Regions from separate parts of the Homo sapiens genome. Here region 2 is linked to region 1. The links are contacts of gene promoters, found by promoter capture Hi-C in blood cells and fetal thymus (Javierre and others, 2016). All regions are on one chromosome and are shown on one strand. The core of a region is centred on a gene start or on the middle of the fragment in contact, and the rest is flanking DNA. Distances in the headings are between cores, read along the strand shown.

Evidence for each region. The method cuts DNA at HindIII sites, captures the fragments that hold promoters and counts their contacts. A CHiCAGO score of 5 or more calls a contact.
Region 2: a fragment that was not itself captured here is called in contact with the fragment with the promoter of ZAR1L in region 1 in 1 of 17 cell types (total B cells); the score reaches 5.8 in total B cells.

Annotation. Positions count from the first base shown.
Region 1 is chr13:32,312,591-32,316,612 of GRCh38, reverse strand. It overlaps ZAR1L (zygote arrest 1 like), which reads left to right and starts at 1,250. Exons shown (of 6, transcript NM_001136571.2): 1 at 1,250-1,298; 2 at 2,063-2,283. BRCA2 (BRCA2 DNA repair associated) reads right to left here and starts at 1,105. Exons shown (of 27, transcript NM_000059.4): 1 at 946-1,105; 2 at 86-191. The coding sequence starts at 152. RefSeq lists an enhancer at 446-715, a promoter at 824-1,320, a cis regulatory region at 1,649-1,715 and a silencer at 1,834-2,054. The HindIII fragment of the contact is 7,545 bases long and covers 1-1,526 here.
Region 2 is chr13:34,943,012-34,947,033 of GRCh38, reverse strand. NBEA (neurobeachin) reads right to left here. Exons shown (of 59, transcript NM_001385012.1): 1 at 3,920-4,022. Among named protein-coding and RNA genes, the nearest start is that of NBEA, 2.8 kb to the right of the region's middle. RefSeq lists a silencer at 3,124-3,213. The HindIII fragment of the contact is 994 bases long and covers 1,942-2,935 here.

The sequences.
Region 1 (4,022 bases), core at 1-2,500:
TGTGACGTACTGGGTTTTTAGCAAGCATTTTTTAGAAAACACTTTCTCGGTGTAATTTATAAAGTTATATAAAATTTGTCAATACCTGCTTTGTTGCAGCGTGTCTTAAAAATTTCAAAAAATGTTGGCCTCTCTTTGGATCCAATAGGCATTTTTACCTACGATATTCCTCCAATGCTTGGTAAATAAGTCTGCAAAACAGAAGACCAAAATGCACTTACACAGGGATGCATTCCTTATTATGTGACTGAGGTAAAACTCAGAAGCGCTGGAAAATTTGTTTGAATTCTAATTCAGTCCCATCTCCTGGAACGGTAACAGCTTACTGTGAGGATGGGAACATTTTACAGCTGTGCTGTCCAAACCGGTGCCACTAGCCACATTAAGCACTCGAAACGTGGCTAGTGCGACTAGAGAAGAGGATTTTCATACGATTTAGTTTCAATCACGCTAACCAGTGACGCGTGGCTAGTGGGGACAGAGGGCTCCAGTTAGAGACCAACGCCGCCTGGTAATTCCCATCAGCATGTCTTCGGAATACAGCAATTACCAGGGGCTTAAGTAAGGCAAATACAGCGTGCCCAGCAGCTGTAAAACACTTCCCCAAAACAGCAATATTCCGTTAAAGTGATCGTGTTTCCAAGAAATTTCAGATGGCGTCATCTGGGACAGCTGGGAGGGAAGTTAAGTCTTGAGCTGAAGGCGGAGCCCAAAGGCCGGGCCGGAGGCGGGAAATGGAGACCCAGGGAAGGGGCGGGGCTCGAATTTGCTTGGCGAAAATCTGCCTTCGGGCAAGGACCTTTCTCTCAGGCATGGGTGGGGGTTGGCAGAGACAAAAGGGCAAGAAGCCGCGGCAGCGACCCGGGGCGTGAGGCGCTCCCCCGCCACGCTGGACTGGGACTGCGGAAGACGCGCTCGTCCCAACCCACTACCACCACCACTAACCCGCTCCAGAGGTGCAGTTCTTTTTTGGCCGGAGTAAGCTGACAAAAACCGCGCCGGTCACAAATCTGTCCCCTCACGCTTCTCCCGGCGGCGACCCACCGCCGCAAAAGACACCCGAGGCGCAGCAGAGGCGCAGCAGTGCCACAGCGGCTCCGCCTCTGCCGCCTAGTTTCAGAAGCTCGCGCCACAAGCCCGCGCTGGCCACGTGACGCCGTGACGCGACACGCAGCACACGCACCACCCGGAAGTCAGGCCTGGGTGGGCCGCTGCGGGTATTTCTCAGTGTGGCGAAAGGAAATTCCTTGTCAGGCATCCCAACCGTCAGTATCTGACCGAATAAAGCGGGAGCTGGAGTGTGTGTTCTCTTCTCGCTGACCCTTAAGAGTCCCAGGCCACCCTGCTTGGAGGGGCCGCCCCTATGCCTACTCCAAGTCCCCCATCCCTTTCTTTTTGCTCCAGCTCATGTTTGGGTGGGCGCCCTCGGGACACGACCTGGGACCTATGAAATACCTTTGTTCTGACCTTAAAAGGGATGTTCTCTCAAGACCTGTTCCCCAAAGCGAGCCGATCTTACAAAAGCTTAGAGTGGTCGGTGTGTGGTTGTGGATGACTTCACTTAGTGGTAGTGGGCGGGGCTGTTATTTGAAATCAGAGGATTTTAGTTCCAGTAGCTGTTCTGCTATTGGGTAGCAGGTGTTCAAGACCTCCGAGCCCGTTTCCTTGCTTGAAAAATTGTGAAACCCATCTTAACTCGCTCATGAAGTGTGAGGTACCTTGCTCCGCAGGGCTTGGTAGTATCTTTTGCTTTTTTTTTTGAGACGGAGTTTCGCTCTTGTGGCCCGGGCTGGTGTGCAATGGCGCAATCTCCGCTCACCGCAACTTCCGCCTCCAGGGATCAAGTGGTTCTCCTGCCTCAGCCTCCCGAGTAGCTGGGAATACAGGCATGGGCCACCACGCACGGCTAACTTTGCATTTTTAAGTAGAGACGGGGTTTCTCCGTTGTTGGTCAGTCTGGTCTCAACCTCCCGACCTCAGGTGATCTGCCTGCCTCGGCCTCCCAAAGCGCTGGGATTACAGGCATGAGCCACCACACCCGGCCCATCTTTTGCATTCTTAGGATTCGGATCACCTGTCTTCCTCGCAGGCTGAACTGGAAGACCTGACTTCATCTCCGAATTCGTTGGTTCTGTAACATGCCTAATACAAGGCTGAATAGGGTTTGTTGTAAGACCTACAAAACCTTCAAATGGATTCAGTGAGAGTTGCTCCCATGGGGGCCTTGCTGCTTCCAGAAGGTGCTTGAGCAGTAAACAGAAGCAACCTTGGATTAGGAAAAGGGTGGGCTCCGCTTGGTTCCTTAGGGACCATTTTAGTTTGATAATCAGTAATCCTTAGTTGTAGAAGGAGGCCTTACTAATGCAGATAGATTCTAAAGCTTTTGCTCTAAGTCTAATTCGCAAAGAAATACGTCTGTGATCCTTACTAATAACAGCTGCCACTTACCAAACATTTTATGAGTTAGGCATTCTGCTTTGGGTTTTCAAGCAATACCATGTTTAATCTTACAGTAATCCTGTAAATTGGTCAGTATTGTCAGATGAGGATACTGAATCAAGTAGTTAAGTAATGTGCCTGGTAGTAAGGCCCAGGTTTGAATTCTAGTCCATTTGACTTCATACACTTAACTAACCTGTGATTTATTTACCCTATAAATCAGAACAATATGCTTTGTCCCCTTTTTGTGGGGGAGGGGTGTCTCACTAGGAGTGGACTAATGAGAACCCGTGGCATGTCACACAAGTCTCAGAAATAACATTTTCTGTCATTTTATACAGCCCCCCATACCTTTATGTTTCTTGTTCTCTTTGTACCAGGGACTTGCAACTTATTAGCTCCACCATAATAGACTTTCTCACCTATTCTCTTCTAGTGCAGCTGCTCAATTTACTATTTGTATTCAATTTACAATATGCTTTAATTTTTCTTAAAAACATTATTTCCAGCTGGGCATGGTGGCTCACGCCTGTAATCACAGCACTTTGGGAGGCCAAGGTGGGCAGATCACCTGAGGTCAGGAGTTCGAGACCAGCCTGGCCAACATGGCAAAACCCTGTCTCTACTAAAAATACAAAAATTAACTGGGTGTGGTGGCATGTGCCTGTAATCCCAGCTACTTGGGAGGCTGAGGTGGGAGAATCACTTGAACCCCAGAGGCGGAAGTTGCAGTGAGCCGAAATCATGCCACTGCACTCCTGCCTGGGAGACAGAGCAAGGAAACTCCATTTCAAACAAGCAAACAAACAAAAACCCAAAAAACCATTATTTCCTAAAAGTTGTATATATTTAATGTGCACAACATGTATATGTACACAGTGAGATGATTACTATAGTCAAGCAATTAACATATCCATCTGTTCACATAATTACCTTTCTTTTGTGTGCGGTGAGAGCACCTGAAATTTCTCTTTGAAACTTTTCAGTATAAAATACAGTATTGTTAACTGTAGTCGTTATGCTGTAAATTAGATCTCTAGACTCATTCATTCTACCTAACTGTAACATTTTAGGCTCTGACCAGTCTCTCTCCATTCCCCCCAACTTCCTGTCCCTGGTAACCACCATTCTACTTTCTGCTTCTATGTATTTGACTTTTTCAGATTCCACATATCAGTGAGTTTATGCAGTATTTTTCTATCTGGCTTATTTCACTTAGCATAATGTTCCCCAGTTTCACCCATGTTGTTGCAAATGGCAGGATCTCCTGTTTTTTGTTTGTTTGTTTGTTTGAGACGGAGTCTTTCTCTCTCTGTTGCCCAGACTGGAGTGCAGTAGTGTGATCTCAGCTCACTGCAACCTTTGCCTCCCGGGTTCAGGTGATTCTCCAGCCTCAGCCTCCCGAGTAGCTGGGATTACAGGAGCGTGCCACCATACCCGGCTGATTTTTGTATTTTTATTAGAGGCAGGGTTTCATCATGTTGGCCAGGTTGGTCTCGAACTCCTGACCTTAGGTCATCTGCCTGCCTCGGCCTCCCAAACTGCTGGGATTACAGGTGTGAGCCACCGCGCCTGGCCAGGAT
Region 2 (4,022 bases), core at 1,189-3,688, 2.6 Mb before region 1:
GGACCTCCATGATTCTAAGATGCAACTGTATATTTTTTAAATAAATATAATTCAAATGCAGAAGACACCTTGTTTGTAAAATTCTAAATATCTTTAAAATGAAAATTATGACTATCAAGCTGCAAATTTAAAAAAACTCTAAGGAAGAAGAGTTACTGCCATATTCAAGTACAAAAAAAAAAAAAACCTTAAAGTTACCCTTTTAACAAAAATACCATGATCCATAAGCCAAGATGAGAGAAATTTGGTAAACCACAAATCCCTTCAAAGCATCTTATTAGGCTTCCAGTTCAGCCAACAGCATGCCACTTAGAATGTAAAAAAAAAAAAAAATCAGAGGAAATATCATTTTCTACAACTGGACACACTGATATAACTCACTGTAACTCATGAAAAAAAACTACAAATCCATGAAAAAATTTCATGAAAAAATTTCATGAATTCAGTTATTCATAAAAAATTTGTCTATAATTAAATTCCATAATTATAATCATAGAATTATACTATACACATAAGAAAGCCATTCCAAAAAAATTATGAATTCTTTCACTAAGTAAATATTAATCCTCTATTATAAACATATTTTTCTAGAAATTTATGTTTATAAAAGAAACTTCCATGTTATAAGCAACAATAACACGATACTTACATAGCTTTTACTTCAAATATGGATAAAGCTTATATAAACATATGTTAAGTGTGTTTACAAAAGAAGTAATAGATTAGGTAGTACGCCAGTTTTACAACTGAAAACAATCAACAAAATCTCTTCTCTGTAGTTAAATTCTCTTATATTGCCACTTTAAATAATTCCTCCAGAAGCCAAACTTTGTTAACGATCAGTTTCTTTCATTAGTAGAGCTACAATGCAAAATCCTTGACAATGCACTCTGACTGTAACTTTATTCACAAACTAATTTACCTACCTTCCTAACATTATCCATTCCATATTTCACTGTTTTAAGTCAACTATAACATCATTATACAAAATACATACATCTCTAATAAAAATGACTAATTTTATATCATATCACATTGGTGATTCCTCACCAAACTCCCACAATCCACCTAGTAGTAAAAATAGGTCTCTAGACCTTTGGGAAACAAAGCAGAAAAATTACAGCCACCGCTCTGTTGAAGAAGTCCTACACTTTAGTGCATGCTTAAAACTTCACTCTGCCCAGCTTTTAATTCTTTGGCCAAGGCATGTGAGAAACAGCACCTAAAAACCAAGTATTTATGAGTATCCTTACATAGGAAGAAAAAATAAACAGGAAAAAGAAAGAAAAATATACTGACAAAGGCGACTGAGACAAAGGTATTGTTTAAGGTAGAAACTCCTCTTTTTTTTGAAGTTTCATTAGTTCTCCTTTCTTTTCTGTCATTCAGGGCACAGTAATAGGTATTTCACTATTTCACCTTACATTTTTATTTAATGTGTTAAACTAAAACTGAAAATTTTAAAAAATCATTTTAGATTTAATATTAAAGGTTTCCAAACTCTAACGAGTCACTGAGTGTCCTATATGAATTTTATTGGTTTACTTACTAAATAAATAGAATTAAGTTTGATAATCAGTTTTTTAAATGCCCATGACTTCCACATATTTTTGAGAATCCACTTAAATTTTCATATGACATTTTCATGAGTGTATTGGACAATAAAGCCCTAAATCTACAGTTCAAGAAAATTACACTTCAAATGACTAATTTATACTCCACAATTAATATAATTAACAACTTAGTAATAAACAGCTCCTTTTGTCATTTATTCTTTTCTCCAAAAGTTTCTATTTAAAAATCTATTGCATTCTTTAAATACATACAAAGAAATTTTAAACCTAACTCTTTAAATTCCAAATATCATTGCAGTTACAAAATCTTAGGTAGATTTGGGGATATACTATCTCAGTATTACTTTATTTCTAGTGACTCTAAGCTTAATGGTAAAGTTCTCTAAAATAACGTCTGCATACTGAAACTTCATGTCAGATTTTCATTGCTCTGAAGAGTTAAATTTCTTTTTTATCTCAAGAGAAACATTTCACTTCCTTTCTTAGTCTACCGTATATCTAAAAAACCCCATCTGTTAAGAACTGATTCAGCACACATTGCTACTGCTGCAGAGTCCAAACTGGTTATACATTCAAATCAGTTTCCAGGTTGTGAAAGCTCTACTGCCTCTTACCAGGTTAAAATGTATTAAGTAAGCATAGGAATACTTACTAAAATAGCCTAATATAATCTAACTTAAAAATGATATTGGTTAGATCAAAACTGCAACTAAAAATGTGTTCCTTTAAATTACAGAAATACAGTTACCTGCTAACATACTAACAGTTTGAGATTTATCTTCTTTTAAAAAGAAATGGCAAGTACTGACCTCTTATTTGCAGCTAGTTAAAATTAAAACTCAAGAAAACTGTATTTCTAGTAGTGTTCTGAAAAGAACTTGGTTATATCAACTTAGTGACATTCCCTCAAACTTACACTGACTTTTCATGATGATTTATTTGAAAGGTACAAAAAAGTAAAAAGAGGTGTTTTGTTTTAAACAGCAATGAATATAACAAAGACAGATAATCTCCTTTGACCTGACACACTAGCAAAAGGAAAAAAACAGCTTCAACTTTTCTGTGCATTTACGAGGTTCATAAACCGTAGACATTATCTAATGCATGTCTCAGGACACCACTGATGTAGCTGCAGCTTTCTCTCAGTTTTCCAATAGAGTAAGTAAAAATAATTGCTTAGCTGAAAAATGACTGCATGGGTGTTACAAAGTACCCCTGTAAGCATATTGTTATATTCCTGTGACCCCACACCAAATACAATACTCAACTGATTGCTCTCGATTTATGTCTTGCCTCCCAAAGCCCAACCTTACAGTATGTCAAAGACTAGATCTATTGCAGAGAAAACTGTTTAAAAAGCTTGGCTGCATTTAAAAACAAAACAAAACAAAACAAAACCTCCATTTACAAAGCACTAAATATGAACTACTGTTAATTATCCTCAATGTATGATTCTCCTCTCCTTCTTTCCATTTCTTTCCCTGACATCTTAAACGCTTCTGAGCCTCTCTGTAGATAGCGCAAAACATTAAGTCATACACACTTCTGCAGTAACTCTTTCTTACCATGAAAGGAACCAAAACCTAGGGCTGCGTTTAAAACCTTTCCTTTAGTCTTTACCCACATGCCACACTACTGAAAGTAACCACAGAAATCAACCTGTGTGATTTGGTGTCCTCACACACCTTGTGTGCACAAAAAATGACTAAGAGATCAGTATATTCAGGGCAATATTACAAAGAAGGGACGGCTGCTTCTGAGATGGAGGGGGATGGATACAGACACAACACTCTCCATCATGGCCTTGGAATATTTAAAGACAGATGCAAAACTGCATCATTTTCTGTCTCCTTCGAAAACATCACACCCCAGCTGCTCAAGTTGGAAGCTAATGCGCTTCTCACATTTCAGCAGCACGGGGGAATTTAGGCTCCAGGGGCAAGGCTGTCATCCTCGGAGAGCGACACCAAGGACAATTAAGTGTGAGAAAAAGAACCCCAGAGAACAGGAGGCCTCCTCACCTCCTAACTAAACTCTAAAGTCGACCCAAAACCTTCACCGCGGGTACTGGGTTACTCGCGGTCCTAAAAAGTGAGAAGAAGCGGTGTTAAGTTGGGCACTGCGCTCAGGTGGCAGGAGAGGACCAGAAAGAGGAGAGGAGGGAGGTGGCGTGGCTCTAGCAGCGCGCAGGCAGGTCACCCGCTGGGCAATACCGGCTGAACGCTCTGCGCTCCCAGGGACGCGCGGCGCGTGTGACCCTGGGGGTGAAGGGTGGGAGGGAAAGGCGCTGGGGACGGTGTATGTGGGGACTGGGGAAGCAGATTGAGAGCACGCCTTTTCCTTACCAGGTTGAGCACCGTCTCCACGATGTCCCTGTTGCTGACCTCTCCGACCTGTATGAGTCCAATCAACACTGCGAATTTCATCCGGATGTTGCGGATCGGCACC